Regions from separate parts of the Homo sapiens genome. Here all the other regions are linked to region 1. The links are contacts of gene promoters, found by promoter capture Hi-C in human tissues and cell types (Jung and others, 2019). All regions are on one chromosome and are shown on one strand. Each heading gives the region's core, a stretch centred on a gene start or on the middle of the fragment in contact. The rest is flanking DNA. Distances are from core to core; before and after follow the strand shown.

What was found. The method cuts DNA at HindIII sites, captures the fragments that hold promoters and counts their contacts. A contact is called where the count stands out against the background at its distance.
Region 2: a contact is called between a fragment that was not itself captured here and the fragment with the promoter of SEMA6A in region 1, in 1 of the 25 tissues and cell types used here (dorsolateral prefrontal cortex).
Region 3: a fragment that was not itself captured here is called in contact with the fragment with the promoter of SEMA6A in region 1 in 1 of the 25 tissues and cell types used here (hippocampus).
Region 4: a fragment that was not itself captured here is called in contact with the fragment with the promoter of SEMA6A in region 1 in 1 of the 25 tissues and cell types used here (dorsolateral prefrontal cortex).
Region 5: a contact is called between a fragment that was not itself captured here and the fragment with the promoter of SEMA6A in region 1, in 1 of the 25 tissues and cell types used here (hippocampus).
Region 6: a contact is called between a fragment that was not itself captured here and the fragment with the promoter of SEMA6A in region 1, in 1 of the 25 tissues and cell types used here (dorsolateral prefrontal cortex).

What each region holds. Positions count from the first base shown.
Region 1 is chr5:116,572,334-116,577,038 of GRCh38, reverse strand. SEMA6A (semaphorin 6A) reads left to right here and starts at 2,216. Exons shown (of 19, transcript NM_020796.5): 1 at 2,216-2,854. It overlaps SEMA6A-AS2 (SEMA6A antisense RNA 2), which reads right to left and starts at 2,621. Exons shown (of 3, transcript NR_147170.1): 1 at 2,500-2,621. RefSeq lists a silencer at 2,381-2,460 and an enhancer at 4,158-4,705. The HindIII fragment of the contact is 11,240 bases long and covers 1-4,705 here.
Region 2 is chr5:118,544,875-118,549,579 of GRCh38, reverse strand. All of the region lies in intron 1 of LINC02208 (long intergenic non-protein coding RNA 2208), which reads left to right. Among named protein-coding and RNA genes, the nearest start is that of LINC02208, 15 kb to the left of the region's middle. The HindIII fragment of the contact is 7,310 bases long and covers 1-4,705 here.
Region 3 is chr5:118,522,973-118,527,677 of GRCh38, reverse strand. It overlaps LINC02208 (long intergenic non-protein coding RNA 2208), which reads left to right. Exons shown (of 10, transcript NR_104610.1): 2 at 3,864-4,029. Among named protein-coding and RNA genes, the nearest start is that of LINC02208, 37 kb to the left of the region's middle. The HindIII fragment of the contact is 8,006 bases long and covers 1-4,705 here.
Region 4 is chr5:118,086,507-118,091,211 of GRCh38, reverse strand. The region is part of intron 2 of LINC02147 (long intergenic non-protein coding RNA 2147); the gene reads right to left. Among named protein-coding and RNA genes, the nearest start is that of LINC02148, 190 kb to the left of the region's middle. The HindIII fragment of the contact is 6,440 bases long and covers 1-4,705 here.
Region 5 is chr5:117,989,024-117,993,728 of GRCh38, reverse strand. The region is part of intron 2 of LINC02147 (long intergenic non-protein coding RNA 2147); the gene reads right to left. Among named protein-coding and RNA genes, the nearest start is that of LINC02147, 260 kb to the right of the region's middle. The HindIII fragment of the contact is 4,554 bases long and covers 1-4,174 here.
Region 6 is chr5:117,737,950-117,742,654 of GRCh38, reverse strand. All of the region lies in intron 1 of LINC02147 (long intergenic non-protein coding RNA 2147), which reads right to left. Among named protein-coding and RNA genes, the nearest start is that of LINC02147, 9.9 kb to the right of the region's middle. The HindIII fragment of the contact is 4,936 bases long and covers 28-4,705 here.

The DNA.
Region 1 (4,705 bases), core at 967-3,466:
TCTGGGTGGTATTTCTTCACTGTGAAAAGTAGACTCCAATTCTTTAACTCTCGTATTCTATAATTTTAAATTAGGTAAATTTAATCGCTCGCTTCTTGGCTCAGCGTTACTACAAATTAAACATGCAAGTATTAATATTGAATATAATGTCCCTTTAAACAATATCCTGAAACTCGTTGTGGGGCATTTCCAATATATCCATAAAGCAAATAAAACAACTTAATTGTTTGTTTCTCTAAGGGAAGGAGCTAAACCCGAAATTAATTTAGTTCGGCCTGTGAAACAATTCGTTTGCTCTGCCTAATTCTGCCAATTTAAGAACTTTTCCCAGACACAATTAGCATGTAAATCGGCGGCGGGGAGCGAAGAAGGAGCCTCGGCGACCCCGGTTGGGTGGAGCGCGGGACAAAAAACCCCGGAGGCCGAAGGGTCCGGAGCTTCGAAGGGGCTGCAGTACCGCGCCTGGGGCGCACGGACGAGCCAGGGGACCAGCTCACACTGACCCTGCAGTCATCAGCCAAAATCTGGGTGTTAAATAGCGCAGCCGGGGATCCAGCCGTCTTGGCCGCCAGATCCTTCTCCTAACCCCGCGGGATTCTGAGGAGACGTCCTGGAGCCGGCCCCCACCCAACCCGCGGGAAAGCGCAATCCTACCCACCGCCCCACACTCCCCAACCCCCTCCCGAGGCTGGCTCTTGAAGCCGCGGGGGCTGCGCGCGCACCTAGGGCCGCGCCCCCCACTACCCCAGGTCTATAGAGGCCTTTGCCCGAGAAAGGTGGGGATAGCGGCCCCTGCTGACAGCTCTGGAGAACAGCAGGGGTACTGATTTTTTCTTTTTTTCCTACCATTCTCCCTACCTTTTCCAGGTGGTGGTAGTGGTGCGGGGGGAATGGGTGTTGACCCATGTGCATTTATTCTTCGTGAAGCCTCTTAAGCAGATGTCTGTACTTAGAGAAGCGACCAAAGAGGGAACGTGGACTTATTAGTGGTCTTAGTCCCAATTAGGGAACAGGTACAGTTTCCAATATAAAGAAACTCGGCCTAAGTGGGACTGAGACCCCGATCTCCGCACTTGCTTTTCTCAGCCAACTCCATGACTAGTAAATATCTCTCCGAGAACTGCTGGGCCGCCCGATGTTACTTTGTTTAAAGGTTGCGACTAGGATCCGTACCATCTGCGAAGCCCCCTTGGGGAGCAAGAGCCGCGGCGCGCAGTTGATTTCGGGGCGCAGCGGCAGGGGGAGGGGAACGTGGTGTGGCCCGACGAGTTGGCACAAGCCTGTAACTGCAAGACTTTGTAGCTATTGAAAGTTCAAGTGGTGAAAGAAGGCTGTGCCTGCCATTCTTCATGTGATCATAACAATAGCGCCTTGGAAGTGGTTGCGATTTTCTTCTTCCATAAACCTTTTGGGTTCTCACTGGAATTGTATGCGTGTTATTTCTGAAGTTTACTTATTTCTAAGACCAGTCCACAAAATGTGAACTTCATTAAGTTTTAAAATAGATCGCCGTCGTTAAAAACGCCATTCTCTGCACTGTAGTTTATTTGCTTACTTCACATGCTTTATTAACGTGTGTATGTGCGTAATTAATAGCTGTGTTCTTATCTTCCAAGTGTATTTTTAACCGCACCGGCTTCTATCCAATTCATCTAACTACGTAGAGCGTCCATCGCTTCTGGAATCTACCTCTTGATAACAGTAATCAGAATCAGAAAAGCTCGCCGTTCACTTACCCTCATCCTTTAAAACTTTTCCATTTAAGAAAATCGATGAACAAAACCTTTCTTGTAACTCGCTCCTGCACTACGTCTATTTTTATTTATTTTTCTGATTTGGCAGGACTCAGCAATGCTGTCCGGGATTTTTTTTTTCTTTTTTTTTTTCCTAGCTAGAGCAGATGTGGGGGTGGGGGAGGTGAGGGCTGGGCTCCAGCCAGAGTCGCCCCCGCTGAGCCTCCGCCTAGCGCGCGGTGGGGCCAGGAATCCTGGTGGAAGGAAGCGGCGCTGGCCAGTTGGTCCAAGGCTCCACCTGCAGCCACACCGCGTAGTTTCTCCGCCTCTGCCTCGCTCACTCGCACTCACATACACCACAGCTCTCCTTTGGGTCGGAGGAGACGCCAGCCAAAGTAGGCGGAGTTGCGGAAGGAGAGTCCGATCTGCGCAATCCAGTCCGGGACTTGGCTCCGCCCGGGAGCGGCGGCCTCTCCGGTGACAGAGGAGTAGTGAGCGGCACGGGGTGAGGCTGCAGCCAACTCCGCTCCCCGCGCACTCGGCTGCCCAGGCGCTCGGAACCCAGCAGCGGCGCTCCTCCGCGGTGCCGGTCGCCCGCGATGCCCGCTTAGCAGCGTGTAGCAGCGGCCAGCATCACCACACCCGCGGCACCGCGCTGCCGGCCGCAGAGCCGGGCCAGAGCCTTGCACCCCTGCCCCAGCCCCCACCCCGCCCCCCGCCCTGAAATGACTTGTTAATCGGCGCAGACACCACCAAGGGGACTCACCGAAGTGGAATCCAAGTGGAATTTGGATTTGGAGAAGAGTTTCTTGAACATTTACCCTCTTCCTTGTTGGTTTTCTTTTTCTTTTTCTTCTTTTTTTTTTTGGCTTCTTTTTTCCTCTCCCCTTCTCCGCTCGTCATTGGAGATGAACACATCGCGTTTGCATCCCAGAAAGTAGTCGCCGCGACTATTTCCCCCAAAGAGACAAGCACACATGTAGGAATGACAAAGGCTTGCGAAGGAGAGAGCGCAGCCCGCGGCCCGGAGAGATCCCCTCGATAATGGATTACTAAATGGGATACACGCTGTACCAGTTCGCTCCGAGCCCCGGCCGCCTGTCCGTCGATGCACCGAAAAGGTACGCCCCGGGCGCCCGGGCGCGCCCCACCTCCCGGGCAGCTGGACTCCAGCCTGAGGGTCCCGGGGCCGTGGCTAGCGCGTGCTGTCGGCTTTGTGGTGCCTGCGTTTTATTTTGTCTTGTGTCTCTGTTTCCCGAGCCTTGCCCGGTCCTGGGGGAGCAGCCGTGAGCCCTGCCTGCCTTTCCTCTCTGCCCTGCGCCCCAGAGTGCGTCCGGCTCCACGTCGAGAGCTTTCCCACCCGCGTTGCGCACACGCCCGGCGCCGCCCCGGGCCGCGACGGCGCGTATGGCTGTTCCTCCTGGGGGTGTGTGTGCGAGACCCAAGGCTCATCCTCCCGCGTGCCCAGCAGGGAGCAGAGCGGGCCCTAAATGGTGGGATTCTCGGAAGCTCCCTGGCCCGGTGTGTCGAAGGCAGGGGAAGGGGTTCTGCCCTCGAGGGCTGGAGGGGGTTGGGTATAACAGCGCTGTTTTCGTCCAGTGCCAGGTGGGAGAAGGGGTTCCGCGGAGACGGTGTGGAAGCGGAGAGAATCTTTTGTTGTCAGTGTGGGGTCTGGGCTGGGCTCCGTGGAGTGCAAGAAACTTGTAATGGCTCTAGGCACCCGCGCGCCCTGTCTCTCGGTGAGATCCTGGCTCCTGTGGCCGCTGCCACCAGAGGTTCCGGGCTTTGTTTGCTCGAATAAGTGTCCGGGAGCAGCCGTTCGGGTGACGCGGCGCCCCCGCCATGGGTCCTGTCCCCCGCCGCAGCTCCCAACCCGAGCGGCAAGGATATAGCCCGTCGCGGCTGCGTCCCTCCTGAAGCACCGAGCCCTTTGCACCGGGCTGGCGCACGGTACGCCCTCCTCCCAGATCAGCGCGGTCTCGCTCTGGAAAGATGACCCAGGAGGGGGAAGGGTGAGAGACCTGGCAGAAGATGGCCCTGGGTTTGAAACCCAGACTAGGGCTCTGTTCCGACTCCTCACTGTGTCCTAGGGCGCTACCATGGGGGCAATGGGGCGCTGGAGAGTAAGCCGGGCAGTGCCCACCCACCCTGCCTGATCCTTCTGGGGCGGGAAGTGTCTCTTGTCCCGATTCTCCGCGTTTTGCTCAGCTCCTCGCTGTGGGAGATGGTGCAAAACAGGATCCTGAGGTCTCCTCCCTCCTCGCAAGACCCGAGCGGCACGGGGGGAGCCAGGGAGCGGTCCCGGGCTTGTGGACGTCGGGAAAGGAAACAGAATTCCGCTGTTTTTCCCGCTCCCTCGCCGCCCCTCCGCCCAGCGCCTCCTCCCACTTTACAGCGGCGGGGTCACTAGACCAGGCGCTCCTGGAAAGTTTCCCTGAAAGCCAGGGGCGGCAGGCACGACCGGACTGGGGCTCAGCATGTGCAGTCTGAGGGAAGCCGGACCTGGAGGGAATCATGCGGACAGCTCGGGATGCAGCTAGGAGCTAGATCCCGGCCCTTTGGAGAGTGGAACCTCCTGGCCCGCGGTACTTGCTCGACAAGTCGGGGAAGGGATGAATGGGGAAGCAGGACCCCGGAGGCAGGTGCGGCCACTGTGGACAGAGGCTGTGGGGAAGGTGCGTGTGGACACAGGCCGGGGCTCAGTGGCTTGCAAGTAGGCAGCTTCAGGTGCAGAATCCCGAGCCATCTGCTCCCTGCGCACGATTTCCCAGCGTGGCTATCCAGGGAGGGAGGAAGCAGAGCCAGGTGTGCGTGGAGCGGGAGAGGAATGGGAGACTGGAGGCGCTGTCTTCACAGCCGGGGCAAGCACTTCCAGGGAGTCTCCGGCCTGTATCGCACTGGGGAGCCCTGCAGGCTTTTTCGCGTCGGTCTTTGGGAGAAAGGTGGCTGCTTTGGAACTGCGGTGGCCAGGC
Region 2 (4,705 bases), core at 1,069-3,568, 2.0 Mb before region 1:
TAATGATGACAGATTACGATGCTACAAATGCTTTGGAGTTATGGGGCTAAATTTTCAAAGGCAGTCCCTGGAACAGAATGCACACAGACCCACTAAGTATTCAATTTGCATGGGCCATTACCAGGTTTGTGCATGGCATTTGGGAGCTTTGCAGTTGAGACTCTTTTGAAAATCTGGCCCATTATGACAGAAAGCATCTGTAATTAACAGTAACTGATCTCCCTCTGCCCAGCCTTGGTAAAAGGTATAAAATGCTCTGTGTGTGGTTTCTTGGAGCCCAACACCCCTTTGATGAAAAGCCCTGAAGCCTGAAAGGAAGGCAAAAAGAGTCCGTAGGGGCTTAATTCAGCCTTACAGGCAGATGTGTAAATCTTATCAGCAGGTAAGAGAAAGCAGGCAAGTCATACAGAAGAGGACTTGGTGAAGTCTCATCTCTGAGCTCCTTTCACATATTACTTGCCCCTCTCATTTTGGCTATAAATTTGCTTGCTAAACCTTGGAATTCCTGTATTATTATTCATAGGATTCATAGGACTAACTAAAATCTGAGATTGTCCCATGGCCCAGTGTGGATTGTTAACTGTGCTGAGGTATGAATTTCAATCTTTAGGAAGCTATGAGTAGTGTGAGTCACTCAGTGATTGAGCAAGCTCCATCTGCTGCTCAGTTTGTCTGTACTCTGATCAGGTATGAGGCAATTCCATCTATGAAGCTATGCATAGCTACAATTTCTGAGAAAAATTGCATGCTTTTAGAAAATTTATGAATTTCCTCAAATTTTTTCTTGGAAATATCTTGTATCTGTCTGGGATGTTGAGGATCTGTTGTACTGTTTGATGATATTATATCTTGTGCTGTTATTTATTGCAGTTTATATAGATATCTTATTTTGGTGATACCTTAGCTTAGAGAACAGGGATCATTTGTATTATGCCTTTGACTTCTTCATAGCATCTCACTCACTGCTGTTTTTTCTGGATCAGCCATCCCTTGTCTGAGCAGAGGATTATAGAGTCTCATAGTCTGCAAATCAGACTGGCATATGGTTAAGAACATGGTTTTAAGATGCCTCGTTTGAAATACCACTCTGTCACCCAGTAGTGACATTCTACATCTCTTAAGAGCCTTGCTTTTTCTCATCAGTAAAATAAGAATAAAATTAGTAGTTACATGTGAGAGTTTTTTTTTTTTGTGAGGATTCAGTGAGATAAGTATATGAAACTCAGCAGAGTGACTAGAACTTAGTATGTGCTTGATAAAAGTTCGTTGTTCTTGTCTTTGGTTGTTACGGCCACAACAGTGAAGTTCTATAGCTGAGGCCAGAATCTCTTTAGCTGGGCTGAGTCATTCTCCACAGAACTAAGGGGCAATAAGGTGCTGCCTTTTAGTCCACGTGATCAATGACTGTAGCAGGCAAATGGTAACCTATATATTATGGGCTGAAATGTGTTCCTCTTACACCTAGGAAGTTACATGCATATCATATAGAGGAGAAAGAGAGAACACCAGCTCAGTCAGACAGGTCAACCCAGAGGCATGACATGTGTCACAGTCAGAGGGTCCTACAACCCTAGTTCTACCATCAGAAATCACATACAGAGCTGCTACTGTAGGGCCACATTCAGGACTGGGTTTGACCTGTTGATGGGGCAGAACATTTTGGAGCCTATGCTGGCAACAGAGAGTCAAGCATCTGACTTCTTCCAGGGACTTCTGCTCTCTTAGGGGGCCCTTTCTGTTTCCAGCTCAAGCTGCTTGTGCCTCAGTCTATGGGCAGTGGAATCTTTCTTAGTTAAATAGCAGAGTCTGCATGTAATTTAAACATTGTACAGGCTCTGGTACTGCCCTGCCCCCTCTTCCCCTTAGGTTGTTTGTCCTCTAAAGACTTAGGGCCCTCATCACAGTCCACAGTCAAACAATATGTGCAGAATGAAGGTGAACGATAAAGGGAGAATGGACTTGTGTTTTTGGTTTAGTTCTTTTCTCTTCTACCCCAGTACCCTTTGGATCCTTTAACATAAAAAGTATAAGAGAATTAAAACTAAAGGCAGAAATGCAGGTGTTATAAATTTTAAATAATCTCATGAACGTTCAAGATTTTTAAATCATTTTAAAAATGAAGTGGTAGTGGAGGGTGTGTGGCTTCTGGGATTTAATGAAGAATTTGAAATTATAATTTTCATACCTGTCTTTGATTTAATGCCAAATGTCTTCATCTGACAAATGAAAACTATCTGATTATTACCTACTCTCTCTTTCCAGATGAAGAGTAGTAGCTGCTAAATTATTGTCAAATATTTTGGAAATATGAAATGCTGTACAACAATAGTAATTTGCATGGTAATGGGCAAGAACCAGGTCTTTATACCCCATTACCACAAGTGATTAACAAGAAGATTAGAAGATTAGGCAGGATAGTCTGTCTTTGGGGGCCATTGTGGAGACTGGCAAATGCCTAGGTTTGCAAATCTCCTTTTTCTCTGATTGATAATAGAGTAACCTCATGTGTTGTTATATGTGGATATTGCTGCACGAGACAGAACTCATGATTTGCTGCAACCCAATACTCTGCTCTTTGAGTAGCCCAGGCAATGTCCCTCCTTAGCCCACTGCTCCCACCTCATTTATCCTGCTCCCTGCTACTTCTTGCCTTTCTTTCATATTGTCTCCCAAGCTAAGAATGGGCCGTTTGTTGTTCTTAGTTATGGCAAATTCCACACAGAGAACCCATCTCCAAACAGTTCAATCTTGTGCTACAACCTCTAATGTGGCAACAAAACCTATAAGACTAACCATGGACCTGGGGCCAATTTTTTAAAACTCTGAGGCTCAGCTTCCTGATCTTCAAAAAAAAAAAAAAAAAATGAATGTGATATTTACTGCTCAGGATTAATATAAGATTAAATAAAATAATGTGAACAATTAAGGGTCAGTAAATTTTCTGAGTCTATGGACTCTCTTTGACTAATGGGACCTTTGATGACACCTTCTTTGTTTGAATTCACATTATGTTTACAAGATTTCAATGTGTGACACATACCTCAATGCTTGAACAAGAATAGTTTCATGTTATCCTCTTACTGTGTTACATGTATAAAAAGCCCACATCCTGTGTTTCTCAAATTGCCTTCTGGAGAGCAGAGGAGATGTTTTAATTGAATATCTACTGGGAATCTAAGTAAGGCATAGAATCAGATTTTTAGAGCTAGAAGGGAAAGCAGGGATGTGTTGAATTTTCCAGATGGCCACCACGATAACTCCCATCCTTCGTGCTTTCCTACGATGTCAGGAACCTGATCGGAAAGTGAAGTCAAATTCTTCTCCCTTGAATCTGACTGAACTTGTAAATGCTTTAACCAGTAGAGTGGAGGGCATACTATATGCTTTCCAAGGTTATAGAATGCCGTGTTCTTTCTGTCCTGTCAAACAGGATCATCACATTTTGGAGTTCTCAGTCCTGTGTACAAAGTCCAACTATCTGAGGCCACCATGCACTTAGGATGTCCAGGCCACCTGGAGAGGCTACCAGATATGTGTATGAAGAAGTTGTCTTGAAAGTGGATCTTCCAGCCCATGTTATTCTAGCTACAGCTGTTTGAGTCTCCTTGTACAAGCCCCAGACATCATGGAATGGAGAAGAGCTGAGCCACGGTGTCCTCTCCAAATTCTCAATCCACAAAACTCATGAAAATAATAAAATGATTGTGTCTTTGTGCTACTAAATTTAGGGAAATTTGTTATTCAGCAAAGATGATTAGAACAAGAGACCACAATTTGACTATCATATTTCAGAAATGACACAGATCCAGAGAGGTTAAATAAATCATTTTATTCAAATGAAGACTTAGTGGTAGAGTTATTCTTAAGTACTGGCTTTAAGATCCATGCGCAATTCACTACTACATCATGTACCTTCTTAGCTCTTGACATCAGCCCTGAATATTTGCATAGTTAAGACTTGACTTTAGGCTTCTGTACTCAAGGGGCACACATTCTAAGAAGTATTATACTCACATAGTAAGCTATGAGGAAATTAATTACATTATAAGCCTAGCAGAGAGGATTCTGCTGCAGACTTTAGGTAGTGAGAGATATTGGAAACTCCCAGAGAAGGGACAGAGATGAAGAAATGGAAATAGAGAAAAAGTGAGAGTTCTGCAGAGATTGAAGCCTTGCAGGGGAGGGAGGGGTAAGCAGCAGAGCATGGGGGTAAAAGTCATGAGACACTGGTGGAAAAAGAAGGGTTGAAGTTGCTTGAACTCTATTCAGGCAAACAACTGTGCGCCGACAAGAAGAAGGCTGATAAGCAGCTTTAGACTGTCTATAGCTAAAGGGGAAGTGAGAGGCAGGCAGCATATGGAGCAGGAAAGAACAGAGGGGGAGACAGCATGAGGGGAGAGAGAAAGTTGAGGAGAGAGATGGGGAGCCCGAGCAAAGAAGTAGGAAAACAGTTGGCCCTAAGTGTCCAAAGAAATTAGGAAGAATTGGAGACAGTGGGAGATGATGACAGAAATAAAACCACAAAAAGTTCAAGGAAAACATTTGGAATGCAAATGAAAACAGTAAAGTGTGTGTAGAAGAAACGGAAAAAAATGGAGGCTGAAATACATTTGAGGTGAAAACAGTAATTGATTCAATTGTTCATACAAGAAAACAGTTTGGATGAGAGTTTAAGCAGCATGTCACATTTTGAGTTACCTGGTTA
Region 3 (4,705 bases), core at 717-3,216, 2.0 Mb before region 1:
GCAAAGGATCTGAGTTGGTATGACTTCAAAGCATACAAATGTTTTTGCGTTTGAACTGCTCTATGGTAGGAAGTGAAATTTAGCCCTGTTTCCTGCCATATCCCCATGTGGGCAGAGTTACTATCATCATTATTTGGTTTTGGAAGCAGTGATTCACAGATGAAAATAACCTTGGAATTCGAAAGAAAAATCGGGAGGAAAATCAGAAGTATTACCAAAATAATTTTTTCTTCTATCAGGACTCTAGCTATTTATGTTTTCATATAAGTAAAACTGAAATATAGTAGCAAGTGTTAAAGCAATTTAAGTGTTTCAAGCTCTTAACTGAGTGTCCTTGAAGCCTATAATGTTTGTGGTAGGTAGTTCCATTGCTGTAAATCTGTGTTGACAGGTGCAAATTTATACTAACAAATTAATAACACAAGTCAGAAAAATAAACCCCAGCTCTGAAAACATTGTATTAGCTATAGAACTAATAATATCAAGAAAAAAAAACAGATCAAATGCTTTCTGACCATTTTGTCTCTTGATTAGACTGAGCTGTTTATAGATGAAATTATAACACTTGGTATTTTCCTCACCTGTGTTTTTCACTTGTGGAATTTATTCATCACATCTGTCATGATTTGTATATCTAGAGAAAAGTTTTAAAGGTGAACTAAAAACTTAAATATACAGCTATGACAAGGCTTCACATTCTGTCTCTGCACTGTGACACTTTAAACCTCCACAAGTTATTTATCATCCAGTTTCCAGTTTCTAGGTTTCTTCTTTAGACCTGTGATAGCTTAGTAAGTGAATATTTTCTTGTTTTACGTCCTCCATACTAGATCTCTTGAATCTCCTTGAAAGAAGGGATTATATCTTGTTCAGCTTCGATCAGTTTTTATTAATAGTAGAATGTTTTGGCATCTAATAGGGTCATTTAATCAATACTGGTTGAATAAGAACAGATGTCCCCTCTTTTAGAAAAGGGAATAGTTGTTTTTGAGGTGAGCAGATGTCCACTCTTTTAGAAAAGGGAATAGTTGTTTTGGGTGAAAAATGTAGGTATGAGTAAACTGAATCGACAGAAATCATTGAGAAAGTGGGAAAATGCCTGGCATGATGTATGATATGTTGAATTTTATGTTTACTGAGTTAGGCAAAAACACCGTTAAAACCATTTTGATGTGGATCTTAAGGTTTTTTGACTTCTGAAGTTCTAGATGAGGAATAATTCTTTTTAAAAAATAATATCACTTAAAATTCGGATTTGTAAGAACAACTGCTTATACTTCTTTCCTAAAAAGAGAAACCCTACAAAACCTTAATTATATATATAGATAGCTATACTCTGATGGTTCACATGCATATCTCACAGGTTATGTTGTTACCTCTATGTCTGGTAGGTAGAGGTGAAACAGCTAGGACACCAATCATCCCCTCGATCAACTGGACTACACTATCTTTTCAGGCTGTCTGGACTACAGTCTCCATCCTCTCCTCCTGCTCCATGTGCAGTCTGCCTGTGCTAGTTTCCTCCTGCTGCGGCAACAAATGATCACAAACACTCTGGCTTAAAACAACACCCACAGTTCTGTATGTCAGAATCTTTGTAGGTTTAATAGGGTTCTCTGCTCAGGGTCTCCCAAGGGCCAGATCAAGGTTTCCGTCAGGCTGGACTCTTTCTGAGAGGTTCTGGGGATGAATCAGTTTCCAAGCCTATTCAGATTGTTGGCAGAATCTTTTTTTTTTTTTTTTTTTTGCAGTGTGGAACTGAGATTCCCATTTCCTTACTGGCTGTCAGCTAGGGTCCACTGTCTGCTACAAGGGCCCCCTGAGTCCCTTCTCATGTGGCCCCCTCCATCTTTCATCCAGCAGTGTTACACTGAATTCTTCCTCTGCTCTGACTCTTTCTGACTTTCCCTTTGCCTTCCTCCCTGTCATAAGCCAGAAAACGTTGTCTGGTTTTAAGGGCTCATGTGATTATATTGTGCCTACCAAGATAAACCAGTATAATCTTCCCATCTTAAAGTCAACTGACAAGTGGCCTTCATTACATCTGCAAAGTCCCTTTTGTCATGTAACAAACATACTCGTGTGTGATATCCTGTAGTCACAGTTTCTGGGGGGTAGGGCAGGGCATTTTTAAGAGGCTGCCTTAGAAATCCGTCTATTGCACCCCCTAAAAAACAAACAAACAAACAACAACAAGAAAAACTTTGCCAGATAGAGGCCAGTCAGTCTTCCGTAGAGGGTATCTATGGCTAACAGTCCATTAGCAAAATGCTGTCACTTTGTGTAATGCCCCTGTGAATTCCTCTTAGGTCTATGTTTCAGAGTAGTTCCTGGAACTGAGACTTTCTATTATATTTTATTAATATCAAAATAAATTACCTAGCTAACAATAAGAGGACTAAAACTTAGGGCACATTTTCTGTGAATATATGAACTTTTTCATGCACAGAAGGTATCAGTTAATTTTATGGTCCCTCAGCTATGTTACTGGTACTTATAACACCATGTGCCATGTAAATACCTTTGAAAATGTCATACCATGGTGTAGCACTGAATAAGAACATGAATGCAGATGACTGTCCAATCCCAGGCAATAGAATTAGGTGGTGGAAATTACCACTTGTGGATAAAGCTTCTTCTTTTTTTTTTTTAATCACAAGCTAGGACAGTTTTCAGGAACAATTCATATTTTATGAAGAGCTGTCACTGAATATCCACCATCATCATCAGCTTCCAGGTGACAGTCAAGAGAAGTTGTTTGACTTTTAGTAACTAATTCAATAAGGAAATTAAAAAAACCCAACAATTGTGATCACATAAGAAGCGCAGAGTAAACACTTGGAATTATACTATCAATACTAAAGTTGCTATATAGAAAAAGATTTGAAAGTATGGCTTAAAAAGTGTGGCATCATGATGGTATGATGGCCAAAAGTGATGATGAAGAATCTTTAGACTTTTGAAATGGAAGGGCATTTCTACTCAAACTGACTTTTTAAATGTAAAACGCATCTTCTAGATTTATTTTTATTATAAGTGAGACAGAGCTAATTTATATATAAAATATCCACACTGCTCTTTATGAATGGTTTTCTGTTCATTTTCACATTAGGAGTTTTATTACTGATCGAACTGATCTTGATACTGAAGAATAAAAGGGTTACTAGTTGTTTAGTATTTATCAGTTAGTTTTAAATTTAATTGTGTATCCATTCCCCCAAAAGGTGTTGTTAAGTTGCTGTGTCTTACAATTGATGGGAACTGAGAAGTGAATAAGAGAACACAGAGCCACACATTAAAAGTGCCTAAAGACAGATACAGGTAGTATCTGTATGAAATATTTGACACAAAGAAATTTATACTATTTTATACATTATACATTCCCCCCCCGCCACTCACCCCATTGTCTGTTTTTCAGGCTTGTTTGTTTTTAGGGTATGTACTTTGGAATGAGAAAGGAATTTTATAACAGTAAAGAAGGCATTATACTGATTTATTAAAATTTAAAAATAAACTGTAAGTGGTATAATATGGATGATTGGATACTGACCTGAGAAGAAATTTCCATATGTAACTTTTAATGACATCGGTATTATGACCATTGGTGAGATACTGTATTCTGCAGACATTTTTCTCTCTCCAACATTGGAGATGATGGAATCTTCTCTACATCTTCCTGCATGAGACTACTTGTAAGAACAAAGGTGGTTGGTGCTTATTTAATGCACCGAGTTCTTTTGTAGGGAACCTTTAAATCACTATTTTGATTTAATTCTGAATCAATTTTATTCTTGAACCGGGAAATCATATTTTAACATGAACTTGCAAATAGTTCAGTGCTTCACTCCCAATTCCTATTTCAGCATCCTTCACCGAAGCACGAAGCAGAATCAAGCTGTTGCCATGAAGCTTGTTTCAAGAGCTCAGAAATACTCCAGGGACTCCTTTACTACTGCTTTTCAAAGAGGCCTTTTTTTCTCTCTTCTCCTTTTCCTGCAAAGAGGGTTATATCCAGTGCTCAAGGACATGGTAAGGCCAACAAGGACTGGAGGAATCTCCAGGACTATGATCTCTTGAATTGTGAAATGTGACATTCTGATTGCTAGCCTGCCTTTCTTCCCACTCCACCAAATTGTAATACTTCTTTTCATGCTACAGTTTTGTAAAACTTTACTGTGTAATAGAAATTGTCTATTCATTTTTAAAGAACTACACTCCCAGAGCAATTGACATTTGTTTTGTTTTAAGTCTTCTGTGTAAAGGTTCATCAAATTCCCATTAAAGTAACATTTTTGGACTATATTATCTGTTCAAAGATCTTAATTGACATAAAAATTTTCTAATTAATGGGCTTCAAAAAGTGTTTTAATCTGTCAGTAAAGTTGACTTTTACTTCAAATATATCATGTTTAAATTTTTTTCCTCTGTAAGGTAGGAGCCAAAGATTAAATATTTTTAAAAAGCTTTAAAAAGCCTGTATTGATATTACTACTACTAATTATAGATAGGGATGTAGGTCCAAAATTAGTACATGGATTTAATGCGTTTTCAGTAAAGTTAGGAATAAAAATAACATCACATATTTCATTTTATTTGAGGTAGCCAAGAATAGCTATTTTCCTTTAGAAACTTCAACAGAAGGAAGCTTTTCAACTTCATAGCATTCTTAGGGAAATATAACTGTCCTGTTTCATAGAGGACATGG
Region 4 (4,705 bases), core at 1,030-3,529, 1.5 Mb before region 1:
TCATATATACATTTATGATTATGTTTTCACAGAGAATTGAACTCTTTATCATGATGGAATACTTCTCTTTTTCCCTGATAATTTTACTTGTTCTGAAATCTGCTTTAAGATTAATAGATATTCCTGATTTTTTTTATTAATGTAAATGTTAGTATTTTGCATCTATCTTCACCTCTTTACTTTGAACTTCTCTGATTTTTACAGTTAGTTTTCTTGTAGCCAGCATTTAGTTGGGTCTTATTTTATTAATCTACTCTGACAATCTCTGCTTTTTAATTGGTGTATTTAGAAAATTCACATTTAAAGTGATTAATGATACAGTTGAATTAATACCTACCATGTGTATAATTACTTTCTATTTTTGCATTTTTTTTTCTGGTAGTTTTTCTTTTTATTCCTTTCCTGGTTTTATTTATTTGAGCATTTTTGTATTGGTTTATTTTATCTCCTCCCTTAATATATCACCTTTTCTTCATTTTCACATTTGATAGTGATTGTACTAGAGTTCACAATATCCTTTTTTTTTTTTTTTTTGAGTCAGAGTCTCACTCTGTTGCCCAGGCTGGAGTACAGTGGCATGATCTTGGCTCACTGCAACCTCCCCATCCCAGGTTCAAGTGATACGCCGACCTCAGCTTCCTGAGTAGCTGGGATTACAGGCATCCACCATCATACCTGGCTAATTTTTGTATTTTTAGTAGAGATGGGGTTTCACCATGTTGGCCAGGCTGGTCTTACACTCCTGATCTCAGGTGATCTGCCTGCCTCGGACTCCCAAAGTGCTGGGATTACAGGTATGAGCCACCATGTATACCCACAATATACATTTTTAATTTATCTAAGTCCACCTGCACTACTTCATTCATACCTATAGCATAGTATTCCCAATTTCTTCTTCCTTTCAATGACGTCGATCTTATTTGTTTTATTTTTTCACATTCTATAATCACTCAATGCATTGTTACTATTATCACTTTAAGCCAATATTTACCTTTTAGATCTACTAAGAATAAGAAAAAAATCTTATTTTTATACCTTCTCTCACATTCTTCCTTTCTTTATGTATATCTAGTTTCCGAGCTGTATTTTTTCTCTCCCTAAACAATTTATTTGTTCTCTTTTAGTATTTCCTAAACCGAAATGATAGAAATTGAAGCAAAAATGTTATGAGAGGTAAATTTTTAATGACAATGACCTGGTTCCAAAACCTTGTAGAAGATAATTCTCTTTAAAGGGAACTTGGGTTCCTTAATTTAGTTTCAGGAATTTAAAAAATCTAACCAGGGTAAATAGGTTATTGAATGTAAGAGTAGCGTCTTGTTTAGTGGTCTGGTTCAGCTTTGCTTCTTACCTCCTGCCTGTTGTAAAGGCATTTTGGAATTTCTCTTGGGTTTGATTATTTGATAAGAGTGAGATGATATACTTCAAACATTCAGAGTCTGTCAGATTTAGTCTAACATAAATAATAAAAAATGACTCAATGAAAAATAAGATGTATTAATTTCCTATTGCTGCTCTAAGAAATGGACATAATTTTAGTGGCTTAAAACAATGCAAATATAGCAGGCTATCTTACAAGTCTGGAGGTAAGAAGTCTGAAAAGCATCTCATTGGCTAAAATGAAGGTGCTGGTAGAGCTGTGTTCCCTTTTGGAGACTCTAGGGGAGAATATATTTTCTTGACTTTTCCAGTTCCTAGAGGCCTCCCTTATTTCTTGACTCATAGCCTCTTATAGTTTCAAAGCCAGCAAGAGCTGGGTTAGTCTTTATCAAATTTATATTACTCTGATATTGACTCTTCTTCTACCCCTCACTTCTACCTTTAAGAACCCTTGTAATTACATTGGGCTCACCCAAATAACACAAAATACTCTCGCCATTTTAAGGCTAATTAGCAACCTTCATTCTGTCTACAGCCTATTTCCCTCATGCCATGTAATATAATATATTCACATGTTCTGAGGATTAGGACATCTTTGCAGAACCCATTATTCTGCCTACCTTTTAGGTCGTCCAGATATAATTTTCATGTAATGTGAAGGTTAAGTGTGGAGTATGGGGGCTGTGAAGTACTAGGTAAGGATTAGCCTAGCACCCAATCTCTTTTTCCTTCTCATTGAAACTTGATGGTTGATTGGCTAGAGGTATTTATGTAAAGGAAGGAGCAAAGGATTTATGGGGATTCTGGCTTGGCTGGCAGAATGCGTGGACGTTCTAATCATGGAGAGGAGGAGGCTCTTAGGAGTTGATTGAAGCAGGTGAAGAACTCAGTTTGACATTAAACTCGAATTACCAAGTGGATGTTTCTTATATAGTTAAATAGGAGCATGAGGTTTAGTAGAGAGAAATATGTGCTGAAGATAAAACTTAGGAGTTGTTCACATATAGTAGGTAATTAAAATAGGAATAGTGGCTAAAATCTTCCTAGGAGTACTTGCATAATAAAAAATAAAAGAAGAGGGCCTGACCTAGAAATCTAAAAGTGAACATTAATAAGCTAGGCTCAGACTGATTTTTCTGTGAAGAAGACTGAGAAATAGTGGACAGACAGGTAGGGCAACACTAAGAGGATGATGTCATGAAGCCTCAGGAAGAAAGTACCTCTAGAAGATGGACACATTCAGAAGTACTAAATGACAGAGAAAGCCAATTAAGCTAAGATCTGAAAAGAAGCAGTTGACTTTCAATGTGAACAGATAATCTTGACAAGCATTGGACCAGTGCTTTGGAGACAGCAGTAGCCCCATTCAAGTGTTTTAAGAAGGGAAATGGAGGTAAGTAGCTAACTGGAGAGTAATGAGGTGGTATTCAAAGGGGCCAAGGGGAGAGCATGAGAAAAACCTGAGCACTTGATGTTATGATAGAACAGGGCAGGGGCAGGGGTGGTGCTGATGAAATTTTTCCACCTCAGATCATCAGGCATCAGATTCTCAGAAGGAGCATGCAACCTAGATCCCTTACATGCATAGTTCACAATAGGGTTCTCACTCCTATGAGAATCTAATGCTGCCATTGATCTGACAGGAGGCAGGACTCAGGCAGTAATGCTGGTTTGCCAGCCACTCACGTCCTGCTGCGTGGCCTGGTTCCTAATAGATCACGGATGGGTACCGATCCATGGCATGGGGGTTAGGGACCCCTGGGTTAGAGAGATTTGTGAGAAATAAGTTTAAAGTAGCTGTCCATGATAAGAAAGAGGCAAATCTTTTTACAGTGTTTGACAGCTAAGTCTAGCCACATTCTAGTGTACTGAGAATGGAAATAGAATTAAGTAGCTAATTGGAGGGCAACAGGATGATATCCAAAGTGGGTAAGACTAGCAAATAAATGTAGCAAATAAACTTTTACACTTCGATCTATTTTTTTCCTGAAGATTGCAATCTCCTTTGGCAACTTGATTCATAAAGACATTGCAGTAGCCTTACTTCTAAAGTGGTTCCCAATGACCCCCAATTCCTGACATTCATACCTTGTGTAATCCTCTCACCTTAAATGTGGGATGGACTTGATGACTGGCTTCTACCAAGTAGAATATACCAAAAGTGATCGATGTCACTTTTGATATTAGGTTATGAAAACCGTGATTCCATGTTGAAGGCACTTTCTCTTCCTTATTCACTTGCTCATTCTGATAAAAACCAGTTGCCATGTTGTGATCTACCCAATGGAGAGATCTATGTGGCAAGGCACCAAGGAGGGAGGCCTCTGGCTAATAGCTGTAGAGAAAGTGAGGCTTTAAGTACAGCAGCTCATGAGAAACTGAATCTTGGCAACAGCCAAGTGAGCAAGCTTGTAAATGAATCTTGCTCCCAGTTGAAGTTTGAGATGATGAGAGCTCTAGCCAGCTCCTTGATTGTAGCCTTGTGAGAGAGTCAGAGCACAGGACCCAGCTAAACTGTGCTAGGATTCCTGACTTACTGCGACATAATGAATACTGTTGTTTTAAATCACTAAGTTTTTTGTTATTTACACAAATTTATGGGGTATATGTAAAATTTTGTTACATGTATATAATGTATAGTGGTCAAGTTAGGGCATTTAGGGTTTCCATCATCTGAGTACAGTACATTTTTGTTAGCTATAGTCACTAGGTTTTCAGGTAGTGTGTTACACAGCTCTAAATAATGAATGCAAATATCATGTTCTCTCTTAGGAATTTTTCTTTTATTATTATCAATAGAGAGCAAGGTGTAAGCTAGGTGCATGGTGAACATGATGGTTAGTAGTAGGTGTCCACTTGACTGGATTGAGGGATGCCTAGATGGCTGCTAAAGTATTGTTTCTGGGTATATCTCTGAGGGATTTGCCAGGAAAGATTGACATGTGAGTCATTGGACTGGGAGAGGACCAACCAGCTTCAATGTGTGTGGGCACCATCCAATTGGCTGCCAGCATGGCTAAAACAAAGCAGACAGAAGAAGAAGAGAGAAGCTGTTTGCTAGTCCTCTGGCGGTCTCTCTTGTCCAGAGCTGAGTGCTTGCTTTCTCTCCTCCTGCCCTTGCACATTAGACTTTAGGCTCTTCAGCCTTTGGACTCTAGGCTTTCACCAGTGGCCTCCCAGGGGCTCTTGGGACTTCAGCTTCAGAATGAGGGCTGCAATCTTGGCTTTCCTGGTTCCAAGGCTTTTGGACTTGGACTGAGCACACTACTGGCTTCTCTCTTTTAGCTTATAGACAGCCTGTCATGGGACTTTGCTGTCTTACCAT
Region 5 (4,705 bases), core at 648-3,147, 1.4 Mb before region 1:
AGGTCAGGAGTTCGAGACCAGTCTGGCCAACATAGTGAAACCCTGTCTCTACTAAAAATACAAAAATTAGCTGAACATGGTGGTGCATGACTGTAGTCACAGATACTTGGGAGGCTGAGGCAGGAGAATCTCTTAAACCTGGGAGGTGGAGGTTAGAGTGAGCCGAGATGGCAACAGAGTGATTCTGTCTCAAAAAATATATATATACACACACACATATATATATGTGTACATATATATACGCATATATATGTATGTATATACGCATATATATGTATATATATGCGTATATATGTATGTATGTACGCACATATATGTATATATATGCGTATATATGTGTATATATGTATATATATGTGTGTGTGTGTGTGTATATATAATATTTTTCCAAAAGTATGCCGTTAGCTATTTTTACTTTCCCCCTTACCCCCAAAAGACCCGGTTGTCCTCCCGGAAAAAATTGGTACATAAATCTAATTGAACATAAGCATTTATGTATCTTAATGGACAGAATTGATGTTGATATTTTTCATAGCATAATATAAACAATAGTATAAAGGGAGAAGGAATAAGAAGGCTGCTGCTGCTGTTGCTACTGATGATACTAATGAGGATAATGATAGGGTAGCAGTTCCTAAACCATTATTCTGATACTGGCACAGGAGTCAGTGGTTTACACTAATATTTCCATTTAATTTTTATGATAAATATATGTGAACTTAAGCAAAGAAGGATTAAGTGGTAGTGATTAAGCAGAGTTGAAGTTGGAATAAAAAAAAGTTGATTGTGATACCATACAGACATGGCAGCCGATGAGAAGGCCCAGGCACAATGAAAAACAGAGCATTCGCAGAAGGGAAGGGCAGATAACAAGTGACCAATTCTGTAGATGTACCTCTGTGGGTCCCCCAAGAAAGATGCAAAGTGATGTCTCCATTAGACACAGCTTATTTTCAAGAAAGCCTAGAGAGCTTCTTTCTACTGGCTATTTTTGTGACTATGAAGAAAGTGTACCTTCCCCACTCCACCCTCCCCCACCCCAATCTATTTCTCTACCTGTTATTATAAATGCCAAAATCTAAGGCTGAAAGGATTAAGTTGCACTATGCCTAAGTTCTTTCCTCTCATATATTCCAAATTTCTCAATTATTTCCAATTGTAAGATTTCTCTGACCCCAGGGCTAATGCTTATCAATCAATTATATTAAATTTACTTTATGTAACTTAGGTTGTCTTACTTCTCTTAGATGCCTGCTTAACCACCAGTGCAGCAATTTCAACTTGAAACACAGTACTGAGTAGGTATAAATGGCAAAAGACTGGGTAATTGCAGGTACTGTTTATGAACAGCCTGCAAGAAGTTCATCAAATTTCCAATAACTAATTATAATTGTAGTCATTTTCAGGGGAGAAACTGAAGAGAACTATTTGTCTTCAGAGAAGAAGCTTAAGCGAACCATTTGTCTTCTCGAAACTGCTTATGAAAAAATTTTTCACAAATTTTATTTCTATCAAAGATACAGAAAGTCTGATACTAGAAGAATTCTGACATATGAATCTGTTTATTTTTACATATGTATGATTCCACAGATCGTGTTGCTTATAATTCCTATCTGTTTTAAGTTAACTTGTGTCCTTAACTGAGCAAGGCAATGCAACATTATTTTGTGGGAAATCTCTGGAACTAACCCCATCCCAAAATAATTTCAAGCAATAACGTTAAATGAGGTACAAATTACAGGGAAATGCAGTTTGAAAATGTTGCTAAATGAATAGGAAAAAATATTTGAAGCACCACTAAGAGGTTAAAAATTAAGATTCAAAGATGAAATTTAGAAAGATTTTGAATGTTGCATCAAAGCAAGGATAAAGCAACTCCTACTCCTAGAAAGCCCATGGTTTTGGAGCAGCAATCAAAGCTGTTCTGGAAAAGTTTGAGGGCAGAATGGATGGCCCCCCTGTACTTGAGCTCTCATTTCTGGCTACTGGTTGAGAGAGAAATGGCTGCTGGGGGAAAAAAGAGACTTTAATACTGGCTGCCTAGTGTGACAAACTGTACCCTGAACCCGGAATGCCCATTAGTCCTTCATTCCTACTAAATCCAATGGCAAAAAAAGAGATAAAGTCACACACACATACATAAACAAAACCAACAGAGCCAAAAATGAAGTGAGTGTGCAAAAGCTTTAGTTTTACTTAAAGTGATGATTTTCTGATAATACAACATACGAATTCTGAGGATTTACATGTTGAAATCTCATTTTATAACATTTCCACTCAAGCCATCCCATAAAACTTGCAAACTTGCAATGCTGCATTGAGCTCATTAAATAGTGCCAGTATTTATAAGGATAATTCAAAATACAGTGCTCCTTTGTAAAATTGTCTGTAAGAGAATTAAATTTATACTGATGCAATACATTATACTGTTGTTGAAGTTAACTAGAAGTTCAACAATAGTTATATTAGGAGGGCTGCCAAATAGACAAACATAAAAGTCAGGGAGGTTGACTTGACTGGGAGAGGTTAGCAAGTTTCTGGCAGCTGTCGTTGCTACCTGTCACTTGGTGACTGGAGTATTGATCCTGAGAGTTAGTTCTTCAGGCTCCATCCTGTCATAGATGTTTGTCTTTATTACCTGTTTCATCAGGCAGCTATTTGGTGTGACCACAGTTCTAGTTCTAACAACTGGATTTTAGAATTACAGAGTCTTAGAGTTAACAGGCATTTTGCAGATCACTGACTACTATCCATCATTAATTCATTAACTGAGTCCCTTTTGGAGGATGTAGGACCCACTGCCATGTAGCCTCTGCTAAAATGCCTCGGGGATCAGGAATTCACAACTCAAATTATTAGGGAGGGGGAGGCTTACTTATTAGAAAGACCCTTTTTAGAACTGAAATCGGTTCTCCCTAGGACTAGGTGTGAGCATTTAAAGAGTGGCTAGCAGCTTGTTAAATTTTCAGTTGATCATTAAACGGGAAGTCAAGAGTAGAGTGGTCTTTCTGTCTTCAACACAACTGTCATAGTTTCTGCGGCATGGAGAACTAGATTTAGAAGTCTACTGAATTCAAAATCTGAATCCCATTCATTCCCTCCTGTCTCATCACAACTTTTTCTCTATCAATACCCTGGGTTCACAAGGGAGATATGAACACATACATATGGAAGTAAACACCATGCGTGCATGCGCACACACACACCCCCATCTATGGACAAAATTGCACAAATTAGTCTTAAGGATATTTTGCTCTTAACCCCAAAGCCATCCTCTGTGAGCTGGTTGAATCCTATGAAGGATTCTTTTGCCCATAAAAGGCAGCCAACTTTCTACTGCATGCAGTCCATAAGCATGTATATTATGAAGAGGAAATAGAAGCTGTTCTTTGAAACTGGAAAATAGGTGTGTTTTTTTTTTTCTAAAATTTAACAATTACTCTGTCCAGTGTAGCTATGCAATTCTTAGTTTTCAAGCAAAGCATCCTCCAAGACAAGGGTGGGAAACAGAAAATTTCAGAACAGACCACAGCCTAATAAAGCCTAATTTCTCCATCCAGTCTGGTTGCCTTTGATCCTTCTGCATCTAGTGGCTATGATTCTACAAATTTATCAGGTGTTAGTTTCTCAACTACTCTTTGGGGCTTTCACATCAGATATATATATGTTAAATAGCCAAAGAAAATTACTTAGAGAGGCACTGAAAAATAATGAATTAGTTTTTGGCACAAATCCTTTAGGTCATGCTCAAGTAATTCATTTGAATGCCTTGCCTCACAGCTGAACTTTTTAAGGTAATTTTTGAATTGAGTTACCAATGAACATTATCAAGTAAAAGGGCTTCACTGGGACCTGTTCCATTATAATATTCAATAGAAGTCCCATTTGGCTTTGCAGTTTGCTCTGTGTAACTAAAGTAAGATAATTTTCATGTTGTTCACTAGAACATTTAATTTGAATGAATAATGAATAGTTATCCTTGGAAAACACAAAGAGGACACAATGTCTTTAGTATTGAGTTCAGGGAACCCAATATCTGTGCCCTGAATCTGGATCTTCTTTAGTATTTTGGCGTGTGACCTTTGGCAAGGCATTTTAAATTTAATGAAACTAAATTTATCTATACACTGTAGATAATTTCATGAGAATACTAATTACTCAAGTCATCTGCATGAGACTTGGGGATATAAAAGCTGAGGAGATACAAAGAATTAACTTGAAAGTCATGAGCGCATATACCACAAGTTGGGGCTGTTGCAAAGTTTTACTTTTTCTTGAGTATTATAGTAGAAATCTGTCACATTTTTGGCCAGGCACAGTGGCTCACGCCTGTAATCCCAGCACTTTGGGAGGCCGAGGTGGGTGGATCACGAGGTCAAGAGATCGAGACCATCCTGGCCAACAAGGTGAAACCCCGTCTCTACTAAGAATACAAAAATTAGCTGGGACCCACCTGTAGTCCCAGCTACTAGGGAGGCTGAGGCAGAAGAATCGCTTGAACCCAGGAGAAGGAGGTTGCAGTGAGCTGATATCATGCCACTGGACTCCAGCCTGGCGACAGAGCAAGACTCTGTCTCAAAGAAAAAAAAAAAAAAAGAAGAAGAAGAAGAAAGAAATCTGTCACATTTTTGAGCTTTTCAGCCTCTGAATAACTTTCTTAGTTTGATAAACTCTGCCATATAAGTCGTGGTGGGAAGAAGAGCCC
Region 6 (4,705 bases), core at 1,246-3,745, 1.2 Mb before region 1:
TAGACAGGGTGATTGAGTTAGAGGAGACTGCTGGGAGGAGGCTGATCCCTTGGGTTTCTGTCCCCTAACCTACTGCTTACCTCAGGAATCACCGTCAGGACTTTTATCTGTTCCCAACTCCTGCCTATGATGAAGTAGGTTCCCCAAGCTGGAGAAGATAAAATCATCTTTCTGAGGAGATAACATCAATTCCAGGTGGAATATGGTTCAATCTACTTTACTCAGTCCATCTAACTATTAATAATTGATACATTTAGATCCTAGGTTCTAATTGGGCTCCTTGCTCTATTCAGGAATTATGATTTATTTTCACCCTAAATACTGTACATCATTATGAGTTTTTTATTGTTATTATAAATTTCACATGCTCATGATAATCCAACAAGTGGATTACCTACTAAAAAAATTGAAGGAAAAGCAGAAAGAGAAAAGAATATAATTGAGAAGCACTAAAAGCACTTAGCAGAGAAAACATATTTTTCCTGCTAAAAATGCTGAGGGATGCCTCCTGCAAGATGAAGTACATTTTCCAATTCTCTGAAGTGTCAAAGTTCTAAGATAAGTCAGGCTGTTCCTGTCCAAAATTCCTGTAAGGGGAATTTATAGCCTGACTTGTTTACCCTGAGAACAGATATCAGATAAACCCTTAGGAACAGAGACAAAAGAGAAGAAAGAAAATGATGGTTAGAGAAACAGATGCCAGAGGTTCACAGAAAGGGATGGAGCTGTTAAGGGATGGAGCTGTTTGTGGGTGATAGTCACAAAGTTTCCAGAGGGTCAGGGATGGGTCTGGGGCACACAGCAAAGAGTCACACGCTCCAGAGACCAGAAAGGGAGTAATGTAGGCAACTCCACTTGGGATTAAAGTAAATAAGTTAGAGAGACTAAATGCTACTCAGGAAAGACAGCAGCAAGAGTACAGGGTATTGGGAAAGAGGGCTCTACTGGCAATCCAGAGACCTGAAACTTAGACTCAGCTTTGATTCACAAAATCTATCTGTATGTAAATCTCTCTTCATCTTTAAAATATAAGCAGATAGACTCTATTTTTTAGAGATTTTTTTAAAAGAATTTTAATCTTTTTTGTAGAGTCAAGGTCTCCTTCTGTTGCCCAGGCTGGAGTGCATTGGCACAGTCATAACTCACTGCAGCCTTGAACTCCTAGGCTCAAGAGATTCTTCCACCTCAGCCTCCCAGAGAGCTGGGACTACAGACATACACCACCACTCCTGGCTAACTTTCAGAAAAACTTTTTAGAGACAATATCTTGCTATGTTTCTCAGGCATTTTTTTTCAGGGTTTTCTCCAGCTCTGGCATTCTACAATGCTGTGAACAGTTGGTAGTTTTATGTCTAAGTTTCTTCCTTTGGTACCTGAAAGTATGCCAACGTGGCTTCCAAAGGTCTCTCCTCTTTTGACAACAAAGGGGTGTGAACTCAGATCATCTCTGTGAGTTAGAATGTAGTAAAAATAGGAGAAAGGTCCAATAGATCCCCCAAACCAAAAAAGAAAAAAAAAAAGAGGTATGAGATGGAACCTGAATGTATTGTTTTATAAAATAATACACACAACTTTCTTTAAAATGAAATATTTTCTATAGAAAGATAATCTAAACCTCCATCAAGAGGACAGCAAAATAAAGGGGCAGGGCCTGCAGGATGGAGGTGCCATAATCATTAATTATCACAACAGTACTATTGAAAGTTAATATGAGCTCCTGAAGCAACTATGAATAATGGAAAACATTTCAGGGGTTAGAGCCAGCCAGGTTGGTTCTAAAGGTGAATTTTTAACTCCCTCAGAAGTTTCAGCATCTACAAAAACTTTCAGAAGATCATACTAAAAACATAGCAGAAATCTTTCACTGTAACTCAAGTTTCTCCTTGAATAGCTAAGGGATGCAGCATATTTTCCCTTTTTCTAAGGTGACAAGACTCTTCAATGAAAATATCAAGAGGTGCCTATTCAGAAATTTTTCCAGGAATATTTACAGACTTGGCAGTTTGCCCCTAAAAATAAAAAAAAAAAATAAATAAACAAATAATTTAAAAAGAAAAACCTTCTTCAGAGTTTCTCTGAAACAGGAAAGGAAACTTTTTATTTAATTTGGCATGTCCTTGCTTCCTGCAAATGCATGGTTTATGATTAGAACAAAAAGAGTTTCTAAGTTGAAAGCTCTCAGTTTTAGTAGGCTGAAACTTTTGCTCTTGACTGTGAGAACCAAGACAGGACACCTGCACATTATCTCCATGCTATTCATTGTATAGCCTCAAATGAAACTGTTTTGAAATGGAAATTCTTGTTTGGTATCTTTCTCTGGCACATATTATTTAAATTTTCCAAAAAAGTAAAAAGGGGGAGTTATTAAAATTAAAAAGTGTTGCATATCTACTTCCTTTCTGGGCATAGAATTCCAAGCTTCTATAGCTGAAAATCTTCAATCGTTATTAAGATTCTTGCTTATGCATGAATTGATCAGTAACTGAGTTACAAGGATAGAAAAATATCTTTGGCATGGATGAGCTATTCCACCGAGTTGTAGAGACGCATGTGTCATCCCTACTGATGGTCAGGCAAGACCCACAGGGCTATTTAAATTTTCCTTTGAAAGTACTCCATGCTCAGAAATCCCTTTCCTAAAATTTATATTAAAACAGAGTTATACTTACTTTATTGAGGATAGAATTTCTTATGATTATTATTTCTGAGCCCACGGCCAACTTTGACAAACACGTTCATTTACCAGAGATAATAATGTGTGATTTTCTCTTTTAATGAAAGATAAATAATTTGGCAGTCTTGGCTTCATGAATTTTTCTATTTCAATACACTTCATTGTATAGTGTGGTGTCCTTTATTCTTGAATGAGTTAATGTGCAGAATGAAAGTGCTTTCTTTAGATCAGTTGTGCTATTTTCTGTAAGGCACTGCTATTCATACCACAGGTTTACAAAAGACCATTAAAGGCTGATATTACGATATTACGTTAAGTTCTGCTCATAATGATGTAGTTCTTTGTTTATAACTTACATAATTCGCTGTAGTGTCAAAGCTTCATCAAATTGGAACAAAAGAAATAGGAAGTACATTTCTGGGACTCTAAATAGAATAAACAAGCTTTGACCAACTCTATTTTTTATTGTGTTTCTTTGAATTAATGCAGAAGCTGTTTCCAAGTCTCAATATAAGAAGAGCAGTGATTTGTTTTATTATCTAAGATGGTATATATATGTGTGTGTGCTTAATATTTTAAAGGTAAAGCCCATATAGGAGAATTGCAGGAGTATATGACTCCAACCTATTGGATATTTCCTATCACAAACTCCTGATTAAGTTTGAATTCATACTGGATTCTCTATAATATAAAATATTTGCATTTAGTCTCAAGAGAGAGAAATTGAACTACAAGGCAGAAATACAGTAAATCATCCAATCCACTTCTTTCTTCATATTATACTGTCTAAAATAACTTGCTTTGATGATAGAAATATTCTGTATCTGCCCCGTTCAGTATGGTAGTCACCAGCCACATGTGAGAATTAAGCACTTGACATATAGCTAGTGCTACAGAACAACTGCATTTTAAATATTATTTAGTTTTTATTTTATTAAATTTAAGTAGCTATCTATGGCTAATGGCTATTGTATCAGACAGCATAGATTTACAATAATAAAAGTGATAGAAGGAGGTCTGCCGATCCGCTCCACTCCAAGGACCACCAGCCACCTCTCCTGTCTCACTCTAGGTACATTGCTCCTGAAGTTGTACATGCACACAGTCTATAGCCTTACATGATGATCTGCAGAGGGTTCTATAATTGGATGGAAAGGGATGGATACCTCACTTTCCTCCTCCATCAGGAAATTAGGACTAAACTCATTAGGCTCACAGCCAACACCCTGGAAATCTTTAAATCTCCTCCATCCCACTCCACTGTGAAGCTCAAGTTACATCTGGAACTCTTCAATGTTACGATATCACTTCCTTCTACCACCTCCTCCTTTAAGTATGTACATTTAAATCACACTTTGACTACAGTTTGGTTACTAAGAGAGTAGGGTGGGAGGCAAGAGTGCTTTCACAACAATCTGCTCTACATCAAAGGTAGACACATTTTAAAAATGCAAACCATACTCATGTTCAACTTCATAATCTGATCTTGGCTTGTATGCTTAACAGGAATGTCAGAATGCCTATTCTGACATTATAAAAAAAATCCCAAATACATGATAGAATAATTTCTCCTTAATTCCATTCTCCCCCTGATCTTCTCCATCTCAGTATGTGCTATCACCATTTACCCAGTTGCACAGGCCCAAAACAAAATTAGTTTTTCTGTCCATGATCTCTCCAACTACCGTCTATATCTAATCCATCAGTAAGTCTTGTTGGCTCTGCCTTCAAAACGTATCCAGAATCTGATCCTCCTCCACAAACTACTACTCTATCTTACCAAATCTATTGCAAAAGACTTGTCACTCTCTGCATCTATCATTATATCCTCCCTTGTTCTCTATAATCTTTTAGCCATACTTCACAGTGGGAAGGCACTAATAAATATGCCATGTGAGGTCTTTAAATCTAAACCCTAACTACCTTTCTGAACTCATCTCAACTCATGTCCTAGCCTGGTGCCTCTTTCATAGTCTTCTTGTTGCTCCTCAAACACGCTAAGCTCATACCCCCCTTAAGACTTTCGCTTAC